Linked DNA regions of Homo sapiens: region 2 is linked to region 1. Evidence: promoter capture Hi-C in human tissues and cell types (Jung and others, 2019). All regions are on one chromosome and are shown on one strand. Each heading gives the region's core, a stretch centred on a gene start or on the middle of the fragment in contact. The rest is flanking DNA. Distances are from core to core; before and after follow the strand shown. Region 1 holds the start of ZNF667 (zinc finger protein 667). Region 2 overlaps ZNF471 (zinc finger protein 471).

Evidence for each region. Contacts are between HindIII fragments. The study calls those that stand out against the background at their distance.
Region 2: a contact is called between a fragment that was not itself captured here and the fragment with the promoter of ZNF667 in region 1, in 10 of the 25 tissues and cell types used here (H1 embryonic stem cells, IMR-90 fibroblasts, adrenal gland and 7 more).

What each region holds. Positions count from the first base shown.
Region 1 is chr19:56,475,115-56,483,081 of GRCh38, reverse strand. It overlaps ZNF667 (zinc finger protein 667), which reads left to right and starts at 5,737. Exons shown (of 7, transcript NM_001321356.2): 1 at 5,737-5,810. ZNF667-AS1 (ZNF667 antisense RNA 1) reads right to left here and starts at 5,208. Exons shown (of 2, transcript NR_036521.1): 1 at 4,701-5,208. The HindIII fragment of the contact is 11,770 bases long and covers 2,602-7,967 here.
Region 2 is chr19:56,522,983-56,530,949 of GRCh38, reverse strand. It overlaps ZNF471 (zinc finger protein 471), which reads right to left. Exons shown (of 5, transcript NM_020813.4): 5 at 738-6,626. The coding sequence ends at 5,002. Among named protein-coding and RNA genes, the nearest start is that of ZFP28-DT, 12 kb to the left of the region's middle. RefSeq lists an enhancer at 4,103-5,302. The HindIII fragment of the contact is 5,520 bases long and covers 316-5,835 here.

The DNA of each region.
Region 1 (7,967 bases), core at 4,488-6,987:
GGAAGGAGAGGGAAACGTGCATGGTACAAGTACTTGCCCTGCCACAGTAAAACACAGCACTGGGCAGAACCTCAAGGCCCCTGAGTACAGAATGGTGGCCATGAACAGAGATTTTAGATCCACCCCAGGCCAGAAGAGAATCTGCCACCCACACAGGAGGGTCCCATGTCCCAGACCACTTCACTGCTGGCTGACTAAAATGGCCTCAGCCCTAAATCAATTCACTGGCAGGCAGCCTCAAATCAATTCACTGGCAGCCATAAGCCTTGGGCAGGTAAAGAGACAACCTACAGATTGGGAAAGAGTAATTTGCAAACCATGCATCTAACAAGGGATTAATATTCAGAATATGTAAGGAACTCAATTCGATAGCAAAAAACTAAATAATCTGATTTTAAAATGGGAAAAAACCTGAATAGATACTTCTCAAAATAAGACACACAAATGGCAAGCAGGTATATGAGAAATGCTCTATATCACTAAGCATCAAGGAAACGGACATCAAAAGGACAGACAGCTCCTGGCCAGCTTTCACAGTACAATTGCTAAGATTATATACTGTGATGGGATATAGGTGCAGAAGAATGCCCTGCCATGTGCAGTACCTCTAGCCTTTGATTAGTACAGCAGAAATAGCAACCATTAGGACTGTGGAATAGGTGCCTTTTAAAAAGTGCTACTAATGCAAAGAGCAGAGAAAATAACAATCTCAGATACCTTAATCAGCATTCTAAAGCGTGAATATCAAAAGGAGCATTTAAAGAAACTGTCATCTCTTGCAGTCAGAGGGCAGGCAGAGCTCAAGTCCGAGCATATGCACTTATTGGAAGAGGTGACTCAGGCTCAATTTCTCAACTACACAAGTCTCCCAAGCCAAAGTTGGACCCTTGATGAGGAAAGAGTTGGCTTTAGGACCGGAGATGGGACATATAAGCAGATGAAGTTGTAGATCTTAAACAGTCATATTCTCTTTAGCCTTATTTTTGCTTTAAGAAGAGTTTCATTCAGTTTCTTGAAAGATAAGGCCCCCCTTCTTTGAAGACCATGCAGAAGCATCATATCAGCTATGTACCTCACAAGATAATGCTTGCCTTCCATAGGAATGTGTATACCATCGAGGCCAGGATTTCAAGACCAACCTGGCTAACATGGTGAAACCCTGTCTCTACTAAAAATACAAAAATTAGCCGGGCATGGTGGCAGGTGCCTGTAATCCCAGCTACTCAGGGGGCTGAGGCAGGAGAATTGCTTGAAAAAAACCTAGATATGACTGTGATTTTAAGACTTTTGCAAAACACAATGCAAATAAGCCAGCACACAACACTGAGTAAATGTTTGTCAAAGGGTAGACAGCAGTGTCTCGTAGTTTCTATAATTTGCTGAATTTATTTTTCATGTGTTCAGTAGATAACTTCAAGATATAAAGAAACCTGGTGCACAACTGGGTTATCGATCGTAAGCATTTGAGCAAAACTACACACCAGGGTTCATGCCTGACCTCAGGGTAGGAGAAGCTCCAGGACTAGTGGGATGTGACTGATAAGTGAAAGGGAGGGAGAGAGAAGCATACATTTGTGACAGCATAAGGAGATTCATTTGCATGTAAGCATCTAGCACGAAAAGATATATGCTGTTTCCTTAACTCTTCAACACCATGCTCTCAAATCCTCTGAAAATATTTCTCCCACAAGAACTTTATTCTGTTGTCACAATTCAGGCCCTTGAAATCCCACAAATAAACTGTATACCTCCCCAGTGATATCCTGACTCAATTCTCTCTGCTTAATCCCTTCAAACAATACTCACAAATATGAGTTCTGCTATGGGCTATGATACAGAAGCTTGTACTAGACAAGTCTTCCTATCATAGCATATGGCAGATGCAACTATGTATGGTAGATCCAACTGTGTATGGTAGACACTGATAGCAATAACTTAAGCATACTCTGAAAATGACCCAGCATGGCAGACGCACCTGAATACATGTTCGGAGTTCCAAATATGACCAACATGGAGATTCATCTTTATCTATGATAAATGCCTGAGTCCCTGGCCTGTCCTGTGGAACGTGGGCCCTATAGGGGATTAAGGCTCTTTGTCTTGGGTTAAATGAGTCCCTGGCCTGTCCTGTGGAACGCTGGCCCTATGGGGGCTGAGGCTCTTTGTCTTGGGTTAAATGAGGGTTGCCATGTGGATGCTGTTAGGAGGAGAGTATTAAGTGAAAATGCTATACAAAGTCCATGCTTTCTGCAGGCGGTGGCAGTTCTCCTGTTCAGCCTACCACCACTGGACCACTCTGTATGTAAGTTCCATCTCACATATAACCTATGCCTCATTTCCTGGATCTGAGTCTCTTCTTCAGCCTCTTGAACCTGGTGCCATCCCTTTTGGAGCTGAAAGAGTTGCAGCATGACACAATAGCATACTACGAAATTAAACTATATCGGGGCAGTTTTGAGGCAGTGGACAAAAGATTCATGTGAGAGGGGAACCTGTTAACAAGCTGAGCCTCTTTATCTCCCCATTCTCTGTCTAGGGATAATTCCTCAACTACAGTGGACAGAGCTGGAATCTGAGCCAAGCGGAGCAGTCATGCTGAGTTCAGGAAGCCTCACTGCTAAATGCCACCTATCAAAGTGGCCTCCCCTGACCATCCTGTGTAAAATAATCCCTCCTTCCTCTCTAGACTTTCTAGCGTCTTTACCCTACTTTTTTTTTTTTTTTTTTTTTTTTTAACAAATTAAATCTTGGGCTGGGCGTGGTGGCTCACGCCTGTAATCCCAGCACTTTGGGAGGCTGAAGCGGGCAGATCACGAAGTCAGGAGAGTGAAACCATCATGGCTAACAAGGTGAAACCCCGTGTCTACTAAAAGTACAAAAAAATTAGCTGGGTGTGGTGATGGACACTCGCAGTCCCAGCTACTCGGGAGGCTGAGGCAGAAGAATGGCCTGAACCCAGGAGGCGGAGCTTGCAGTGAGCAGAGATCACGCCACTGCACTCCAGCCTGGGCGACAGAGCAAGACACTGTCTCAAAAAAAAAAAAAAAAGATTCCAGATACTCTGGAGCTGTCATAGGATCAGGTATTTAATTTATGCCTGTAATTCCCATGGGTTCCTGGGGCAGGGGGGGAAGTGGTGGGGAGTCCTGAGGTGAGAGTGAGGGAAGGTCTGACCAAATCCAAGACCAGGACTAGATTCTGGACCTGGGCTCTGGGACAAACTGTCTTAGAAAACTCATGGGTGTCTTGGGAGATAGTTGCTTTATTCGGAGAATGGGCACAACAGAGCCTGATCAGGAGCCAAGACATCCGACCCACACACTCTGGTTTCTCTGAACTAGGACAGTCTGAGGCATAAAGCTTTTTCCCAGATTTTCGCACTAACATGCCCCTAAAACAGCAGAAAGGATGACATACTTTCTTGGGAGGTGGTTTAAAGAAAACAAAGAAACTGCCAAGTGACAGATTTATCCTAAGATTTCTTGGATCTCTTGACCACACCCCTTATTCTAGTATTACCAGGTATTTAGAACAATCTCCAGTCTAGAAAGAAACTTGCTCCAAGGAACAACTCAGAGAACGGCTTACAGGATTAAAGAAAACCTTAAATGGAAAAATTCACTTTTGACCAGGGACAACAATCAGTAAGTGCTAGCTGCTAGTCACAGAGGTAATGGTAAAAGTCCTAATAGTAGTATCTGTTAGCTTTTATTTTTATTATTGCTACTACCTAATCACAGAAATGGGAAACCAAAACTAGTTCCTCACACATTCTCCCTACTACCTAGTCCCCAAAACTTGCTCAGAGTCACCTGGGAAGAAAGAAATCACAGGCCCTGGGTTCCCCTCACACATATACCCACCTATGCAACTACAAAAACTGGGTCTCAACACACAGGCGGGTACACACACACAGAGTCAAAAACACTGGCTTTCCTTGGCCGGTCGCGGTGGCTCACGCCTGTAATCCCAGCACTTTGGGAGGCCGAGGCGGGCGGATCACGAGGTCAAGAGCCCACATGGTGAAACCCCGAATCTACTAAAAATACAAAAAACTTAGCCGGGCGTGGTGGCGGGCGCCTGTAGTCCCAGCTACTAGGGAGGATGAGGCAGAAGAATGGCTTGAACCTGGAGGCGGAGGTTGCAGTGAGCCGAGATCGCGCCACTGCACTCCAGCCTGGGCGACAGAGCGAGACTCCGTCCCAAATCAATCAATCAATCAATCAATCACTGGCTTCCCACACACACACAACACTCATCCACAAAAACTGGCTACGGCTCGAAACCTTAGTCGGATAGTATTTTAGGCTTTATGGGCCACAAGATCTCTGCTGCAAGTACTGAACCCTGCCATTGTGCAAAAGCAGTCATAGAATAGACGTAAATATACACAAGTATACATATTCAAAATGTGTGGTTCCCCACAGAGACGTACACACCGCAAAAACTGGGCTCTAGAGTCAACAGTAAATAGTTCAGGCTTTGTGGGGCCACACAGTACCTGTTCCCACCTACTCAACTCTGCCCTTCCGCAGAAGTGGATGCAGAAGCTAAACAAATGTCCAGAACATACACACATATTCAAAATCAGTGCCCCCCGCCACGTACAAAACCACAAAAATCGCCTCAGAGACACACGTATAAGAAAACACAAAGGTTCGTCCTCACACATGTTCAGGGTAACACAATGTGGGTCTCACCTACACAAACGCGCGATCAAAACCCGGGACCCGCACGCCCAGATGACCGGGACGAGGCCATACTTCACATCTTCTCTCACAGACTCACAATTACGCAACGGTCACCTCAAACGACTTTATGGCGGACACTCCCGGACCTTCCGCTGTCCGCCCCTCCTCGTCCCTTCTCCCCGCCGGGGTGAGCCTCATCCACCCAGTCTCAACCCCGACGCAGTCAGTCTCACTGCCAGCCCGCCGGCTACGCAGGCGCAACACCGCATGGAACAGCCCCCAGGGCGTGCAGGGGCCGTTGGGAAATGTAGTCCGAGCGCCACGCAAAGGACTGTGGGCCTCTTCGCAAAACGTGCAGGTGAGTCCCCACTGTTGGCCAAAAGAAACATCCCTCCGCTGCTCTCCCGGGTCAGTTCATCTCCGACCCGGACAGAGCAGAACCAGCGCAGCCCAAGCCTTCTTCACCTCACGTTCTGGGTGGGACTTTCCACAGCCTCGCTGCACCCCGGTGGATTCTGGAGGTCGCAGGATGACTGCGTAGTGCGCACGCGCGGGTGGGCGGTGTCCGCCTCCGCGGGTGAGGCCGGCTCCAAACCTCGTGAATGTGGGGGCGAAGGACGCTGGCTGGCTGGAGGCAATAAGCCCTCACACGGGAACGTGTGGTTGTGGGAGCGGGGAAGGCGGCGAATTGGGGAGGTTGGGTTTGGTTAAAGAGCTCGAGGAAGGGCCTCAGTGTCCACACGTGATCTCCTGAGAGGATGAAAAGCAGGGCCAGGCGCCAGTCCCCTAGGAGACCGGTGTGCGTGCCAGCCTCGGGGGTGTGCGCAGGCGCGGGACCTCGCGCGTCCGCCTGCACCAATCGTGCGAACGCGCTTGTGCGTGTGGCGCTGAGGGGTCGGGGCCTCAGGCCGGGGCTGGTGGTACTGTCCCCGAGAGGCGGGTGAGCGCACGCCGCGTGGCCTTGTTTGGGGGCGGGGCCACGCGCCCGCATGCGTGGTGCGTGTGTGAAGGGGGGTGCAGCGCGCGGTCCCGGGGTCCCGGAGGGGAGTGCGCAGGCGCTGAGTCCCTGCTCGGCTGTCTCGGTGGTCGCCGCCGGGGTCTGAGCCCGGGAAGACCGAGGTAAGGGGGCTGGCGAGAGTGTGGGTGTGTCTGAGGGCGTGGGCGGCGCGCCCGCCACTGCGTGGACGTTCCTGCCAAGGCGCGCGTGGGTTTGCGCATCCACGATGGCGTGGGCGTCTGCGCGGGTGCTTGCGTGGGCGGTGGGCTCGCGCCTGCGTGGGTTCTCGGCCCGCCACGGCGTGGGGTTTGCGCCCTTCGCTGCTGTGGTTCTCGGGGCTTGTGCGCCCAAGTGTGAAGTTGGCGCCGCGTGTGAGGCGAGCCGTGTGTGCCTGTGTGTGAGGGAGCTATGTCGGGACCGCGGATGTGTATCGCTGCGTGACCCACGCGAAGGAAACAATGGAGCCATTGGGAAGCCGGGAGTGGGTGTGTGACGCTGACTGTGAAGATTTGTGTTTCTGGAGTGTGTGCGTGTGTCAGTGTCAGGCTGATGTGGGCGTTTATTGTAGCCTTGGGTTACTGTGTGACTTGCCTGGGCGTCTGTCTGCCACTTAGCGTCAGTGGCTTTGCGGTTATGAGTGTGTGACTGTGCCTTTCTGGTGTATATCTCACTGTAACCATGGAAATGGAGGCCCACAGGGGAAGAATTCTTAGCAGCTCTAAGATGTGATGGGCTGCCCTGGAAATCTGTGGAACTGTTTAATTGTGCATGACTTTCCTCCTTGGTAAAATAGCATATTAATAGCACCTGCCTGGGTGTTATTGGGAAGATTAAATGGGATGACGTAGCTGAAACACCCTGCACAGAGCTTGTCACATACTAATCACCGTGTTTAGGTGTTGGTTATGGTGCTGGTGGTCGTTTTTCTTTGACCCTATACAGAGGCAGAGGTAGTGGTGAATACTGGAGGACTTTGCATCTCTGAGCTTCGGACTGGGCTATCTTTGTCCACATACCAGGGCATCTGACCATCTCCAGTTGAGCAGTGGTGCGCTGCCCCCGCCAACCACCTGCGTCGTCAGTTTTCTGCATGTGTACATTTGAGTGGAGGACAGAGCCCTCCACTGACGCTAAGTATGGTTGTGTCCCCTTCCTACCAAGGTAGCTTGGAAAAATAAGAGCATGGACTGTGGCGCCCCGCTGTCTGGTGTTGACTCCTGGTTTCACCACTGGCTGGCTGTGTGACTGAGAGAGCTTACTTAAGTCCACCACTCCTCGGTTCACTTGTAAAACAGTAGTAATAACAGAACCAACCTCAGGTTTATGGTGAGCATAAGTAGAACTTGGCACAAGGAAGTGCCACATCAATGATCATCGTTTTATTATTAGCATAATAACCGCAGGCGTCCCACACCTGGAGAATAAAATCCATAGGTAGAAATGCAAAAGGATGAGCCCCAGAGTAAGGGTTGCAGGTCCAGAGGTAAAATAACTTGGACGTCTAGATCAGGGCTTAGGTTCAGAATTGTGTAGGCAGGGTCCTGGGAGGGCAGCATTAGGGTAGAGGAGGTGGGGTCAGGAACAAAGGATCTTCCTGATGGAGATGTCCCTAGGGAGCCCATGGGGTCAAGAACAGAACTTTGAAGTGTCAGGGACTAAGGGATGTTTCCATATAACACATGGGTCTGGAAATGTTTCTGTCCAGACCAGTGTTTCACAGCCTTGGCACTGTGACATTTGGGGCCAGATAGTTTTTTGTTGGGAGGTGGGAGGGGCTGCTATTCTATGTATTATAGGATGTTGTGCAGCAACCCTGGGCTCTATTTACCAGGCCAGTAGCACACCGCGCCTCCCTCTGGGTTGTGACAAGCGAAAAAAAAATGTCTCCAGACACTGTCAGATGTCCCCTGCAGGGGCAAAATCACTCTGATTGAGAGGACCGTGATGCAAGCGCATGGACAGACCGAAGGCATGATGACAGGGAGAAGAGTAAGGGAGCTGGGGAAGGCGGGGCACGGAGAGATGATAAAAGGATAGTGTTCTGAGATGAGAAGAAACGGCCTGCAGCCCGGGTAAGCTCCGAGATGCATTCATTCATTCAGCCAGTGAGTGCCTACCATGGATTGGGCACTGTGCTAGTCTCTCAACAAAACAGGCAAGGTTTTTACTCAGCTGGAACTTGCATTTAGTAGGAGAGACAAAAATAAAGTCTATAATAGGTGCTGATAGGTACTTTGAAAAGTAAAGCAGGGTAAAGGGATTACAGGGTGTTTGGCAGG
Region 2 (7,967 bases), core at 1,826-4,325, 51 kb before region 1:
AGCTGGGCTTGTGCAAGAATCACCACCCATAATTCTTCAGAATGACTGCAACAGAAGTCTACCTTCCTTAGGGCTCTCCCAGAAATACTATATCCCTTTCTTCAGTATGTGCATACCTTAGTTACAGTTCTTTTGGGACTGCTCTGCCAATTCAGCAGGACAAAACAGGTTTACAACCTGGCAGAAGCATGAATCGGGTCAGGTCTAGGGAGCACAGCAGACAAACTCATATACCATCTTTAAGTCTTGGCCAAAGGATAACTCACATTCAACTTCCCCCATGTCTCAAGGAGTATCTCATTTGATTTAAATGAACCATATACAGGCTGGAAGCGGTGGCTTATGCCTGTAATCCCAGCACTTTGGGAGGCCAAGGTGGGCAGATCATGAGTCAAGAGATCGAGACTATCCTGTAGTCCCAGCTACTCAGGAGGGTGAGGCAGGAGAATCGCTTGAACCCGGGAGGTGGAGGTTGCAGTGAGCCGAGATCGCACCACTGCACTCCAGCCTGGTGACAGAGCGAGACTCCGTCTCAAAAAATAAAAACAAAAAATGAACCATGCACAACAAGCAACACATAAAAAAACTCATGGAATAACATGAGAGCAGCTCACCCCGCCCGCTACCAAAAACAAAACAAAACAAAAACAAACAACAGGGAAGGAGTTCTTGTATCTGTGTGCATGGTTTCTATTTGTATTGTAAACAAAAACAACAAATAAGATACTATGAATGCATTTTTTAAGCTTTATAAAGTTTATGTAGTTAATAACGATGTCATCATGTTAGTCATGAAGTTACATCTCAGTTCATAAACTGCAAGACATCTTTGAGTAGAGATCCATCTCATTTTCCGTAACTACACAGTGATCTACTAAACTGATTTTCTGTAACTTAAGTAACCCATAACTTTAATAGCACTAAACATTTTTTCCAAATTTTTCACAATTCTGCAACACATTTGCTTATGCATCTATATTTCTGCACTTGTGCTTTTTGAGAACATAACTGACTAGGTGTAGAATTGTGGCAAAGGGTAATTATATTCAAAATGCTGACAGGTAACACCACATTGCCCTCTAAAATGGCTTTCCTCTAATTTACCCTCTCAATATTTGAAAATACGGTTTCTCACACCTGCGACAATACTGGATATTATCCAAACTTCACATTCACATAAAATTTCTGCTGGTTTGTGTTGGTGGGGATGAGGACTTTTACAATCTGCACTTATCTGATCATTAGTGAGGTTGAGAACTTCTTCTATTTAACCATTTTAATTTCTTCATCCAATAAATTTTGTTGACATGCTCTGCAAGACTGTGCACCTTATCCTTGCTGCTTTCCAACAGCCCTTTTTCAAGGGCTATATCCTTTCTAATGTATGTTTAAGATATCTCTCAGCCTGTCATATGCCTTTTAACTTTGCATACAGTATCTTACGCCATGAAAAAGGTTTAAATCTTCTACACAGTCCTGTCATTCTCTCTTCATGGCTTCTGGACCTTGTCCTGCTTATCAAAGACCTCCTGAACCTAAAGGCACAGAAATACTCTACATTCTCCTCTACCATCTTAACCTCTTACATCTGTAATGAGTATAGAATGAACTTCTGTGTAAGGAGTCAAATGGGATGCTGACTTTATTTCTAGTTGGACAACTGTCAAAGACATTTAATCTCCCCCAATGATACATCGAAAACACTTTTCAAATATAAAAAACCCATGGATACGACCTTCTACAAAACCTCCCTTCTGATTCCTGCCTAATTAACACTCAACATGAATTTCAGAACTGTCAATGTAAAAGTAACTTACAGGATTACAATATTGAAACATTCATGTAGGATCATGTTATGGATCTCCATTTATTCACAGCCTCTGTTCTCCATCAGCAGAGGCTAATAATTTCCTTTTGTATATAACTAAGTAAACTCACCTATAATTTCATTTCTTTCCCCTTGGTTTGATATCAGAGTTGACTTAGCCTCATGAAAGAAGTGGAACATTTTAAGTGTTTTTTTTAAAAAAAATATACTCCAGAACAACTTTACTAGTGGAACAACTTTACTTGGAAGGTTAGAATAAATCTGTGAACCCACATGTTGAAATAGAACTATATTATTCAATTTCTCTTTCTTCAGTTAAACATTAGTGATTTTTTTTTACTTGACTAAATAAAGTCTTGTATATATTCCCCGCAGGAATTCTAATTCTTTTGTTCGTTTTATCCAGAGCTATATAGCCACTTCTTAAAACATGTTCTATTTATCAAGTCATAATTAATTTCCTCACCAACAAGGGAACACAGCCTTAATCATGAGACAGCCGCTGTGATGTCTTATTATAATATTAAATGTTAAGCATACTACATGTGCTAATCACCATCTACCTTAAGATACTGTTTTAAGTCAGGCTGGTTGCCTGTAATTGCAGCCACTTGAGAATGAGGTGGGAGGGTCACTTGAGCACAGGAGTTTGAGACCACCCTGGGCAACATAGAAAGACACCATTTAAAACTTTTTTTTTAGCTTAAAAAAAGATACTGTTTTGGTTCCAAAATTTTTATGACTGCCATACTGCTTTCAAGAATGCACTGTTTAAAAATAATTTACATCAATTCTGGAGAATACTTATCTAACATTTACTAAGCACTTAGTATGAGTTGGTCATTTTGCTAAGCACTTTATGTACATCAAGTATTTTAACTAGAGTTTTAAGAGTAACTTAATTTGCATTTTTGAAAGGTCACTGTGGCTGTAATGTTAACTCGAAAGGGACAAAAGAGGATGAAGTTTTAGAATTCATGGGTATGCAACCCATTGAATGTGAGGACTTTTTTGCTTATCGGAGGTGGTGTATCACTAAAACTATGCACAGACTTTTTTTTTTTCTTAGCTCATCAGCTATTGTTAATGTTAGTGTATTGTATGTGTGGCACAAGACAATTTTTCTTCTTCCAATGTGGCCCAGGGAAGACAAAAGGTTGGACACCTGTGTAATGATTGAAATAGTCCAGGTGAAATGACTGTGTTTTGGACTGGGGAACCAAAAGAAGTGGATAAATTCCAAAAATATTTAGCAGATATATCCACAGGACTTGGTGATGTAGTGGGTGAGGAAGAGCTGGCTGCCTGAAATGAACTCACTAATGAGCAAGGTGTGCATCTTGTCTGAGGACATTTGCACATTCTTTACATTGTTAAGACCGCTCTGCAGTATGAATTCTTCCCTGTAAAGCATTCAATCTGGCTGAAGGTTTTTCTTCTGTATGCTTCACGAAGTTCTCATGCTGTGTTTTTCAGCTCCATCAGGTCATTTATGTTCTTCTCTAAACTGGTTATTCTAGTTAGCAATTCCTCTAACCTTTTTTCAAGGTTCTTAGCTTCCTTGCATTGGGTTAGAACATGCTCCTTTAGCTCAGAGGAGTTTGTTATTTCCCACCTTCTGAAGCCTACTTCTGTCAATTTGTCAAACTCATTCTCTATCCAGTTTTGTTCCCTTGCCGGCAAGGAGTTGTGATCCTTTGGAGGAGAAGAGGCATTCTGGTTTTTGGAATTTTCAGGCTTTTTGCACTGGTTTCTCCTCATCTTCGTGAATTTATCTACCTTTGGTCTTTGATGCTGGTAACCTTCAGATGGGGTTTCTGTGTGGATGTCCTTTGTTGATGTTGATTATATTCCTGTTAGTTTTCCTTCTAACAGTGAGGCCCCTCGGCTGCAGGTCTGCTGGAGTTTGCTGGAGGTCCACTCCAGACCATATCTGCCTGGGTATCACCGGTGGAGGCTGCAGAACAGCAAAGATTGCTGCCTGTTCCTTCCTCTGGAAGCTTTGTCCCAGAGGGGCACCCACCAGATGCCAGCCAGAGCTCTCCTGTATGAGGTGTCTGTGGACCCCTGCTGGGAGGTGTCTCCCCGTCAGGAGGCATGGGGGTCAGGGACCCACTTGAGGAGGCAGTCTGTCCCTTAGCAGAGCTCAAGCGCTGTGCTGGAAGAACTGCTGCTCTCTTCAGAGCTGGCAGGCAGGAATGTTTAAGTCTGCTGAAGCTGTGCCCACAGCCACCCCTTTCCCCCACGTGCTTTGTCCCAGGGAGATGAGGGTTTTATCTGCACTTTTTTCAAAGATGCGCTGCCCAGAGAGGAGGAATCTAGAGAGGCAGTCTGGCTACAGAGGCTTTGCTGAGCTGTGGAGGGCTCTGCTCAGCTGGAACTTCCCCATGGCTTTGTTTACGCTGTGAGGGGAAAACCACCTATTCAAGCTTTGGTAATGGTTGGCGCCCCTCCCCCCACCAAGCTTGATCATCCCAGGTTGACTTCAGACTGCTGTGCTGGCAGGGAGAATTCCAAGCCAGTGGATCTTAGCTTGCTGGGCTCAGTGGGCATGGGAACCACTTGGCTCCCCGGCTTCAGCCCCCTTAACAAGGGAGTAAGCGGTTCTGTTTCACTGGCATTCCAGGTGCCACTGGGCTATCAAAAAAACTCCTACAGCTAGCTCGGTGTCTGCCCGAATGGCCGCCCAGTTTTGTGCTTGAAACCCAGGGCCTTGGTGGCATAGGCACCCAAGGGGGATCTCCTGGTCTGTGGGTTGCGAAGACCATGGGAAAAGCGTAGTATCTGTGCCGGAGTGCACCATTCCTCATGGCACAGTCCCTCATGGCTTCCCTTGGCTAGGGGAGGGAGATCCCCGACTCCTTGCACTTCCCAGGTGAGGTTACGCCCCACCCTGCTTCAGCTCACCCTCCGTGGGCTGCACCCACTGTCTAACCAGTCCCAATGAGATGAGCCAGGTACCTCAGCTGGAAATACAGAAAGCACCCACCTTCTGCGTTGATCTCACTGGGAACTGCAGATCAGAGCTGTTCCTATTCGGCCATCTTGCCAGCCTCCTGGCTGAAGGTTTTTCTACATTTCTTACATTTATATGTTTTTTATCCAGTGGGACATCTCTGATTAACAGTAGGGGATTGGTGATAACTAAAGGCTTGGCCACATGCACTACATTCTTAAGGTTCTTCTCCAGTATGACTTCTTTGATGACAAATTAAGGATAACTTTCTTCTGAACGCCTTCCCACATTCAAAACACTGATAGGGCCTTTGGCCAGTGTGGAGTCTTTGATGCTGAGCACAGGATGAGCTATCACTAAAAGCCTTTCCACATTCAGTACATTTATAGGGTTTCTCTCCAGTATGAATTCTTTGATGTTGAGTAAGATTGGAAGTTTGGCTGAAGGCTTTCCCGCATTCATTACACTCATAAGGTTTCTCTCCTGTATGAGTTTTCTGATGTTGGGCAAGGTGTGATCTCTGTTTGAAAGCATTTCCACATTCAATACATTCATAAGGCTTCTCTCCAGTATGAATTCTCTGATGAGTAGCCAGCTGTGAACTGATTCTAAAAGCTTTTCCACATTCTTTACATTCATAGGGTTTTTCACCAGTATGAATTCTCAAATGACTAACAAGGTGTACATTCTGCCTAAAGGCTTTCCCACATTCCTTGCATTCATACGGTTTCTCTCCAGAATGTACTCTTTGATGCTGAGTGAGTGATGCATGATGGCTAAAATCTTTCCCACATATATCACATTCATAAGGTTTCTCTCCTGTATGAATTCTCTGATGTACAGTACGGGATGAACCCGAGCTGAAGGTTTTTCCACACACACCACATTTGTAAGGTTTCTCTCCTGTATGAATTCTCCTATGCAGAATAAGTCCTATGTGAACACTGAAGGCTTTCCCACAATCAATGCAATTAAAAGGCTTCTCTCCAGTATGATAACTCCTCCAGTGACGAATAAAAGATGTGTTATACCTAAAAGCCTTCCCACACTCAATACATTCATAGGGTCTTTTGCCAGTGTGACATCTCTGATGTCGAGCAAAAGACGAGCCATCACTGAAGGCTTTGCCACATTCTTTACATTCATAGGGTTTCTCTCCAGTATGAATTCTCTGATGCTGAGCAAGGTGTGCAGGCTGTCTGAAGGCTTTTCTGCATTCCTTACATTTATATGGTTTTTCTCCAGTATGAATTCTTTGATGCTGAATAAGGTGTTCACTTTGTTTGAAGGCTTTCCTACATTCTTTACATTCAAAGAGTTTCTCTCCAGTATGTGTTCTGTGATGTTGAGCAAGGTGTTGCCTTTGCTTGAAGGCTTTTCCACATTCCTCACATGCATATGGTTTTTCACCAGTATGAATTCTAAAATGAACAGTAAGGGATGAGCTATGGGTGAAGGTTTTGTCACATTCATTACATTTAAAAAGCTTCTTTCCTACATAGACTTTCTTGTGTTTTATTACCATAGAATTTTTGGAGAAGCTTTTTTTATCTGATGTGTGATTATAAATACTCTCTTCTATGTTTTCCAGATGGATACATTTCCCAAATTTAGTATATTTGAATTCTGTTTCCTTAGTGATGGTTTCTTTATGAGTGATTATTTCTTTCTTGCTAAACATCTCATGACTTCCCATCTGCTTCTCAAAAAGGTCTTCCCATTTCCAATTTTCTTCAAAAGTGGAACACTCAAGTCCATAGCTAGTAATTCCCTCCATGCATGCATCATCATACATGAACTGCTTCAGAGGTAATTCCTGTGTCACATATATAGATTCCCAATCTGAAAGATATTAAAAAAAAGTGAATGTTCCCTTTATCATGGGCTACAACAAAGGAGACATTGTGAAAAAGGTAATTTAAAAATATTTAATAAATCTCACAAAACCTGTTATGTACAGGCATGTCAACTGGAAAACATTCAGGGAGACCCCAAGAAAGACAGCTCATGAAGGAACATGGGAGAGGTGACTAAGAAAGCGAAATGGGCTAGGTGTAGTGGTTTAGGCCTATAATCCCAGCACTTTAGGAGGCTGAGGTGGATTGCTTGAGCCCAGGAGTTCAAGACCAGCCTGGGCAACATGGCAAAACACCATCTCTGCAAAAAACACAAAAATTAGTCAAGCATGGTGGTACATGCCTATATTCCCAGTTACTCAGGAGGCTGAGGTCAGAGGATCACTTGAGCCCAGGAGGTTGAGACTGCAGTGAGCCATGATTGCCCTACTGCACTCCAGCTTAGGCAACAGAGCAAGACCCTGTCTCAAAACAAAAACAAAAACAAAAAACAAAAACAAAAACCTCAATGTAGGATGAAATCCTAGAGAAGTAGTCTGCAATGGTAATATTTCATGCCTGTATTGACCTAACAGACTATAAATTAAGCTCTCTTCATCTACTCTCTTCCACTTGTAATTGGTTTTCATATACAGTTATGTTAACTTTGTTTAAATACCAATATCGTATCACTACTGCTGCTGAAAAGTCTCTGGAGATCTCCAGTAACCATATACCCTATGGCTTGTGATTATCTTAGGATTTAGGTGAAATCCTATGGTTATCTTTTCATAATGTGAAAATGGTGTTCCTATGAAATCATCTACATGTTTCAATACAGCAAACTCTCCAATTCTCAGAGTTCCCTGAACTTTAATCTGCATATTAAGAGATTTTCCCTTTCATCTTACTTTCAACAGCCTGGTAAAATTATCACCTCTTAGACCACCTTTTTATAAAAAAAAAAAAAAAAGAGGGTTTCACTCAGTTGTCCGGGCTGGAGTGCAGTGGCATGATCATGGCTCACTAACTCCTGGGCTTAAGCAATCTTCCCACCTTCTCTTGAGTAGCTAGGATTACAGGTGTGAGCCACTGCACCCAGCACCTTAAGCCACTGCTTAACAGGGTTTTACCATTTCCCCTTTTGAAGAAATGAATTTTATAATGATATGTAGGTTGATATAACTACTATTAATCACATTCTTATTTACTACCACGAGTAACTTTCTTAACTCCTGACCTAGAATATAAGTTTACAGAAGGAATAAATGTGCTTTAAAAATTATTGCAACATCGGCCAGGTGCAATGGCTCATGCCTGTAATCCCAGCACTTTGGGAGGCCAAGGC